Linked DNA regions of Homo sapiens: regions 2 and 3 are each linked to region 1. The links are contacts of gene promoters, found by promoter capture Hi-C in blood cells and fetal thymus (Javierre and others, 2016). All regions are on one chromosome and are shown on one strand. Each heading gives the region's core, a stretch centred on a gene start or on the middle of the fragment in contact. The rest is flanking DNA. Distances are from core to core; before and after follow the strand shown. Region 1 holds the start of PDS5A (PDS5 cohesin associated factor A). Region 2 overlaps RPL9 (ribosomal protein L9). Region 3 holds the start of RFC1 (replication factor C subunit 1).

Region 1 (2,700 bases), core at 118-2,617:
CAGTGGCAGGCTTGGGCTGCGCGGTGAAGTCCATCCTGGGGGACAACTTTTGGTTCACAGTCCTCTACCGGCCTCTATCGGTCAGAAAACCAAAGTTCAGCGGGAAAGGGGCGACTTTGTAACCTCTTTTTTCATTTCAAATCTCTCTAATCTGGAAAAGGCCCTGTCTCCCCAGAGGCCGGGGACCCGGCAGCGGCCTCGCCACCCGCTCTTTCCCAGGGATCGAACCCCGCCGGCCCCGCCAACCCGGCCCTGCCAGCCCCAGGCTCACGGGGCTCCTCCGCACCAGCCGCCGTGGCCGCCGAACAGCGCCAGGAGTTTCCCATTCCGCCTTTCACAATGAAATCCACCCCCGAGCACCAGGGTCCGAAGTTTGGCGGCCCCGGGAGGCCGGCAAGGACCCCAAGGCCCCCGCTCGGCGGTGGGGAAGCACCCAGTCCCGCCCGGCCAGTCCCCTCCGGGAAACCAGACCCGAGGCCTATAGGGCTCGGCTTAGGCCGCAAAACTAGGGACCCAGCGGACCCACGCGCAGCGGCGGCTGCCGGGAACAAAACGCCCTTGCCCAGCCGAGCCTCGGACCCGGGGTAGTCCCCGCCGCGCTGCCACCCCTCCCCTGTTCCGCTCCCTCACCCCCGCGGGAGGGGAAAACAAGCCGCCCTCCACCCTCAGCCCCACGCCAGGAAGCGGCTGACGCGCCTCCGCACTTCACATTTTGTTCCTTCAACTTCGGCTGAGGGACCCCAGCTGCTTCTCTGGCCCCCGGCCGCTTGGCGCCTCCGGCACCGCCGAGGCCTTCCCGGCACCCTCGGGCGGCCCCACCGGGCCTCGGACCCGCGGCCCCCCCCTCCAGTCTCCCCTTCCGTCCCCTCCCTCCAGCAGCCTAGGGCGGGAGCCGAGCCGCCGCCGCCTTTACCTCCTCCTCATGCGGGCGGAAGGTGCATCGAGCGCCCGGGCCTCTGTCAGGTGGTTGCGCCGCCGCCCCTAGTCGGGCTGCACACAAAGCGGCTCCGCGGGTCCCGCCGCCGCCGCCGCCGCCGCCCGCCCGCCCGGGAGCGGCGCTGGGGCTGGCGGTGCCGAGGAGGAGCAGCCGCCGCGGGGGGAGACGCGGGGCGAGTGAGCGCTGGGCGGGGAGACAGTGCCGCTCTCCGTCTGGCCGAGGAAGAGCAGCCTCGAAGGCTCCTCCGGGAGTGTGTGCGCTTGTGTCCGTCCGGGACCCCCGCGGCCCGCCCGCACGCACCTCGCGCCGGCCCGGACCGCCGACTCGGACCCGGACGCCCCTCGCAGAGGCGCGCGCCCGGCCGTCCGTGCCCCGGGAGCCGGGGCCTCGCGCACACACCGGCCGGTCACGCGAGCGGCGCGAGAGCACGCGAGAGCAGCGCGCGCTCCTCGCTCCCTCCCCTTCCTCCGCCGGCCGTGCATCCGCCTCCCTCGGGCCCGAGGCGGCCGCGCGCAGGGCGGACAGCGCCGCCACCCGGTTGGCGCCAATACCTGCCGCGCGGGGCGCCTCCCGGAGGACCCGACCGGAGAGGGCGAGAGGAGGAGGAGCCCGGGTGGCGGGAAGCGAGCCCAGGTTCCCGCGGCCTTGCGAGGGCACGCAGGGCAAACAGTGCTTTATCTTTCGCAGCGGCGATGAGCTGGTGACTTTTGGGGGTCATCCTGAGGGACATAGACGAAACTGGTTGGGAGGTAGTTAATTGCTCGGTGAAAATGAACTGATTTCCTCCTCAGGGAGAGATCTGCAAAGTCAAGGAAAGTTGTGCAATGGGGCGCAGCGTGAGCGGCTCACTCTCGGGTCTTCTGACAGCCACCCGAGTTGCCCACCCTCCTTAGATTTCTGAAGTTAATATTTTGAAAGCTGCAAAACATGAAAATAGCATTGGGTCGAGTCGTTCTCAAGGTATGGTCTTTGGGCCACCAGGCCTCACAATCACTTTGGGTACTGGCTGAAAACGTAGGTTTCCAACTCCAAAGATTAAAAAACATAAAAATATATGTTTTTTTAACGTAAAAATATATATGAACATAAAACATATAAAAATATAACATATAAAATAAAACACTAAAAAATATAAAAATATACATAAACATAAAAATCTCTGAGAGTGGAACCCAGAAATAAGCATTTATTAATTGGGTGGGTGATTCTTGTAAATAAGGAAGAGCTCATTTTTTAAAAATGTTTTAAACCTACCAAGCATTAACGTTTTCTGTCATCCAAAGGAAAACCACTATCAGGTAAAAACAGTGCACGCAGCAGTGTTTGAGCAATTTAATGTATGTAATTGAAACAAATTAACGCAAGAACATACACTTACCTATTTAAAAAAAATCAAGAGCATACACAAAATTTCCGAAGAGAAAGTTGAAAAAAGGATACGATAATATGAAATCACATTCAGCTCTTGAAACTGACCACTACCATAGTTTAAAATGATATTCGATTGTTTATTCAAATTATTCTTGATGGGTACCCATTGGTCTATTTTTTTCCCACATCCTTTAACGTCAACTTAAAAATAGTAAAGGTACTGCATTTCAGCTCACTGACTTGTTTTTGACGTATTACACAAGAGCAGTCATTGCGAATCTGACACTCCACAGTTGCTGATTTGCTAGAACTCTGCCCAAAAGTCAATGCTTTGTTCTTGGGCATTTACAGTACCAGGCAGAATCCATTTAAAAGTGTCCTCATCCAAACTA
Region 2 (2,725 bases), core at 222-2,721, 520 kb before region 1:
TATTTCTGGACAGCCATTATTTTGATACTAAGAATCTCCCTTCTTCCCACCCCTCCCCACCCCAATGGAATCAAAATGCATCAAGAGGCCGAGCCAGGTATGTTTTAAGAGGCCAAGGGGGAAGAACTGCTTGAGCCTGCAAGTTCAAGACCAGCCTGGACAACATAGCAAGACCCTGCCTCTACAAAAAACTTAAAAATTAGCTGGGGCCAGGCACCATAGCATTCCTTGAAATCAGCCTGGGCAACGTGGCGAAACAGTCTCTACAAAAAATCAAAAATCAGCTGGATGTGGTGGCAGGCACCTGCAGTGCCAGCTAGTGGGGAGGCTGAGGTGGGAGAAACACCTGAGCACGAAGGTGGAGGATGCAATGAGCTGAGATCACGCCACCGTACTCCAGCCTGGGCAACAGAGCAAGACCCTGCCTCAAATAAAAAGCACTAAGCTTTAAATTTTTTTTAAAGCTACTGTGTTTACTATGTATTACGCATGCATTGTTGTTTTTCAACTTTAACTCATTTAATCAAAGATGTTTGCAATTTTAAGCTGCAGAGAGATGACATGCCCAAGGTGGACAGTGAGAGCTGAAATTTACGCTAGGCTATTAACCACTACTCATGTAGTTTTCTCTTTAGATTTTAAAGGTTCTTACCACGAAGAAATAAATGGAGTGATGGATGTGTTAATTAGCCTGATTTAGTCATTCCACAGAATATGCATGTGTTGAAACATCACATTGTGCTCCATAAATACACACCATTATATACACCTTTTGTAAATTTAAAGTCTTTTTAAAAGATTTCATTTGCCAAGTTAAATACAACCACCACTGCAAGCTACTCCAATGTATCAACTTTCTGAAATTGTAATCGACATAATGATATAAACCCTTAAGTAGCACCAACAGTTTAAGTGTAATCAAGAGATAATTCTAAAACAAATCTGGTTTTACTCAGCACAAACACAAAACAACAGCCAACTAAAGTATGGAAGTTGGGAGTGGAAAAGGAGGAAAAAAATATGAAGGAAAAATTTCTTAATTCTGTCTGAGGGTATGCACATACCTGGTCTCATCCGAACCCTGCGGATATATTTTTCACCCAAGAAATTTCGGATTTCAACAAGAGACCCATTCTCCTGGATAACAACGTTGATGGGGAAGTGAGCATACACAGACCTCATCTTGTAACGGAAGCCCTATGTTAAATAAATAAGCAAGCTATTAGCAATGCTGAGGAATATTTTTAATAGTTTTAAAATTTTCTAAGATGCTTATACTTATTTTAAAACGTAACACTCACTGCCAAGATTTTCTAATAACTGTCACCTGAACCAAGCCTTATAAACATTGTTCTGTCTATTCAGTGGACTGTAAAGCTCCTTGCGGAGGCTTTATTTCACTAGCTCTTATGCCCTCAATGAACAATGCTGCCTTCTTTTAATGAGAACCCCAAAGCCCTGATCTTAGACATTAGACTAACATTTACTGAGTTACTAAGGTACAGCACATGGCAGGAATTGAGACCACCAAGCCAAAGGCAGGCCCCCTGCCTTCAAGGAACTTAAGGCTAAGAGCAAGGGTAGATGGGGGAATCTTAACAGATTTATAATAGATGTACAGGGTGCCATTATCAGGTGCATTCTAGAAGGTATAATGCAAAGAAAACCATTTCAGCATGAACTTTTTATCTTGAGGGGAGAGACGGTGGGTTGGAAAGAATAATGACATACATTATGGCAGCAGACAGAAAACTCAGAAACTACATCTTTTTCTATCCCAACAAGGGGTCCTGATGGTGAGATGTGACTACCAACTAGTACTGCAACTGTAGATTTCCTATCTTAAAGAATTCGGAAGGTATGAAAATTCATCATTAGCCTACTTTTTAAAAGTTGTACCCATCTAGCCATGCATGGTGGCTCATGCCTGCAATCCCAGTACTATGGGAGGCCAAGGTGGGAGGATCACTTGAGCTCAGCCTGGACAAAATAGCGAGACCCCAGCCTTGATTAAAAAAAAAAAAAACCCAACAACAGAAAAAAACAAACATGTTGTACCCATCTGGTCTTTGCTCTCAGCTCTATCGCTTAAAGACCCACAGATGCCTATTTTTGCCAAGTTCTTGCGTATTACACCAAATAAAATACATGACCCATTCTCTGAAAGAGACACTTACGCTGTATAAAGCACAGGTTTGAGAAACCTCCCTTTCCAAAACAAGGAAGTCTGATACATCTGCTTACCAGTGTAACACCCTTGATCATGTTCTGTACATGACTACAAATAGTCCGAACGGTAGCCAGTTCCTTTCTGTTACCCCACCATTTGTCAACCCGGAGCTGTAACAGAACAAAAAATGTATTCTTTCCAGAAATATGCAGGCTTAAAAGACAACAGACCACTTACCGAATTACTTTAAGATTCTAGAATTAACCCTTATCAAAGCACATGGTTTTCAACTGGAAAAATCCAACCACCTATAAAACCTCCCAACAGTTAAGCTTTGTAGAAGTTGCAACAAACTTCCCTTCTGGAAAATTAAATCATCAGGTTTAAATGACCTACTGCCGGTTCCTGTGATTTTTACAAAGCAATCACTAGGAAAATAAACCAAACTTCTAACACCATTAAGACGTGTCACTGATGACCACTATTACATTTGAGCTTTATATAATTGGCTGTGTTCAGAATCTGGTTTTTCAATTTCACTGAACAGGCTGGTAT
Region 3 (2,870 bases), core at 131-2,630, 610 kb before region 1:
TTGGCCTCCAAAATGTAATGATGATCATTATAGGGAAGTAGTATAACATGGTGGTCAGAAACACCAAGATTCTAATTCTAGTTCAACCACCTACTAGTTATATGATACACTGTTTAAATTCCAAAAAGGTGCTTGCACCATCTGTAAAACTGCATCGATGTGGGTTGAAATGAAAAAAAAAAAAAAAAAAAAAAACCATGGAAAACCAACAGTTCACATATTGACCTAAAGAAGATGCTTGGTACAAGGTAGCTACTATCATTACTGTTGCCCTTTTTTGAGAAGAAACACAAAGGCCTGCAACGTTTCCCAGTGTGGCATAAAATTTTCACCGCCCCCCCCCAGAATGTTGTCACTGTGACACGTTGACCAATGATTGAAAAAAATTATATCGGATTGTTAAGTATCTTCTAGCTTAATGAACATTTTAAATGGTCCTTTAAAAATATTTCAAACACAGAGCCATATCCATTGCCATACCATCAGGAATGTCTGCTTTGCTGGCTGCATAATCATTTCACTTTCAATTTGTTTGAACATTTTATCCAGAATTATGCAGTGAGGCTTGGGTTTTTTTCAGATTTTAAACATCAGGTGGTAAGAGGATGACAGCTGTCAAATGTCTTGCATCTGTTTCTATTCGCTGTACTTCTTTTTCCTAGTAAGCCATGTTATCCTTTTGACTCCTATGAACTCATCTAAACAAAATAAAATATCCTCTCCATGCCCTCGGTCTCAACACCGCTCAGGTGATCGTTAATGACGAGCGGAGATGAGACGAGCTGAGCTGTTAATGATAAAAGTTTAAGGCCCTACACAACATATTCCCTAAGAAAGAAAAGTTTGTTACATTCTTCTCCCTCGTGACCCAAAGCTTGAAATCCACGCTTTAGGCAGTACTCAAACTGAGGTTCGGGCAACGCCGAACAAGAAAATAACTTTACCAATGCGTCCCAAAACCACCATCCTTCCTCTCTTCCTTTCTCCCTTCCCCCAAGAGTGGGGGGCGGGGGGAAAGTGCAAGTACACGTAGCAACAAAATCCCTGCGCGCTGGCTGCCGCCCAGAGCCAGAGCCCGCGATGCAATGAAAGTTTTGCGTCCAGTGCCCGGTGTGCGGCCCCTTCTCTGCCTTTGCTAGCCTCCGGAACCACCCACCGCCATCCTCCCCCACCCTGCATACCAGGAGTGCCCGGTCCACACCAGGCCTGCAAAGCCCCCCCAGACCCCGAGCCGCACGGCCTCCCCCAGCGGCTCACCATCGCAGCCCCAGGATGAAGGCGCTGGCTGGCTGGCGGGTGGGCCGGTTGAGGAATCTGTTATCGAGGCTCAGGATCCATTCGCGCCAACAACTTCTCCCGCGAAGTGCAAGAAGGCGAAGACAGTGGCGCGCGGTGATGACGTCAGGAGGCGCGAGCTTTGCTTCCGTCCCGCCCAGAGGCGGGAGGTGCGACGCCTGCCCAGGTGCTGCCCCGAGGGCAGGCGGGCCGCTGACATCGAGAGGAACCACGGTGCTTTGGTGTGAGCTCGGTTTTTGGCGGGGGCGCTAAAGTAGGGGGATCCGATATTGGTTTCCTTGGCAGGCGGGGTACCCAAGTACCTCCCGGTTACACGTCTGGACAATGCACTTCCCTATAGTAACTTTGAAAAGTTTTTACTACCAACTTTAGTAAGATAAATGTTTTAGCTGTGCGTTTTACATATTATGTATAAATATCTATTCTGTAATAAGGTTTCATCAAGAGGCCGGACGCGGTGGCTCACCCCTCTAATCCCAGCACTTTGGGAGGCCGAGGCGGGTGGGTCACCTGAGGTCAGGAGTTCGAGACCACCTGACCAATGTGGTGAAACCCCGTCTCTACTAAAAATACAAAAATTAGCCAGGGGGTGGTGACGTGTGCCTGTAGTCCCAGCTACTCGGGAGACTGAGACAGGAGAATTGCTTGAACCCAGGAGGCAGTGGTGCAGTGAGCCGAGATCGAGCTACTGCCCTTTAGCCTGGGCGACAGAGCGAAACTCCGCCTCAAAAAAAAGAAAAGATACCGAAAGCTTTGGGGTAAACCAGTTGTATATGAATAGATTAGCAATTGAATCACGGAATACAATGAAACATTTGCGTACGATTTCAAGAGAAAGATTAGACCATAAAGAGTTCAATGGAGAAAGCAGTATCTCCAGCTTTGGCTCTAGCTACACTTTTGAAATTCTCACCCATCCACCCCCTGTTGGGTCTTGCGCTTTATGACACCAACATTTCTATGGCGAAAGATAGAACAGCCTGGAATACAACAGAGGCTGAGCATTGACAGCTTGTATTTATTAAACGCCTATTGTTGTACGTGCAGCTCTGGACTAGCCTAGCTCATTTTATCCCCATGATGACACTGACTACTCTTATCCCGAATTTACAGACAGACTGTTACTTATTAACAGGGCCTCACTGCACTGTTCCCTCTGAAGCCAGGATGCTAGGTCTCCAGCCCCACCACCTGCTATTTATGTGACCAAGGGCAAGTTACTGTGCCTCGGTTTTGTCTTAGCAGACATATCACACAAATTTTTGCCCATAATTTTAGAGGACCTACACCAATTTATAATGTTCATTGTGTTATAAATCAATAAATGAGTAAATAAGACATAAAAAGTTGTACGTGTCTTTTATATTACATTCCTCTTAACTTTTGCTTTTTTTTTTTTTTGGCATTTGAAGCCTTCCTTGAGTTTAAATGAGACTTAAGTCAGGAGACTGTAACTTCTTTGTGAGATTGTTTTCTTTAGGAATATTTATTTACATGAAAATACTCTATCTCAGAAATATACCAGATCTAAAATGACTGCATATGCTTTGAAACTCCTCCCTTGAACCTGGACT

The links. The method cuts DNA at HindIII sites, captures the fragments that hold promoters and counts their contacts. A CHiCAGO score of 5 or more calls a contact.
Region 2: a fragment that was not itself captured here is called in contact with the fragment with the promoter of PDS5A in region 1 in 13 of 17 cell types (fetal thymus, naive CD4 T cells, total CD8 T cells and 10 more); the score reaches 22.2 in fetal thymus.
Region 3: a contact is called between the fragment with the promoter of RFC1 here and the fragment with the promoter of PDS5A in region 1, in 3 of 17 cell types (fetal thymus, total CD8 T cells and erythroblasts). The highest score is 8.2, in fetal thymus.

Annotation. Positions count from the first base shown.
Region 1 is chr4:39,976,544-39,979,243 of GRCh38, forward strand. It overlaps PDS5A (PDS5 cohesin associated factor A), which reads right to left and starts at 1,368. Exons shown (of 33, transcript NM_001100399.2): 1 at 914-1,368; 2 at 1-74. The coding sequence starts at 34. RefSeq lists an enhancer at 1-615 and silencers at 153-902, 953-1,592. The HindIII fragment of the contact is 4,779 bases long and covers 1-2,700 here.
Region 2 is chr4:39,455,342-39,458,066 of GRCh38, forward strand. It overlaps RPL9 (ribosomal protein L9), which reads right to left. Exons shown (of 8, transcript NM_000661.5): 4 at 2,245-2,340; 5 at 1,065-1,197. Among named protein-coding and RNA genes, the nearest start is that of RPL9, 2.2 kb to the right of the region's middle. RefSeq lists an enhancer at 2,582-2,725. The HindIII fragment of the contact is 2,057 bases long and covers 444-2,500 here.
Region 3 is chr4:39,364,982-39,367,851 of GRCh38, forward strand. It overlaps RFC1 (replication factor C subunit 1), which reads right to left and starts at 1,381. Exons shown (of 25, transcript NM_002913.5): 1 at 1,258-1,381. The coding sequence starts at 1,260. RefSeq lists an enhancer at 1,303-1,422. The HindIII fragment of the contact is 1,173 bases long and covers 873-2,045 here.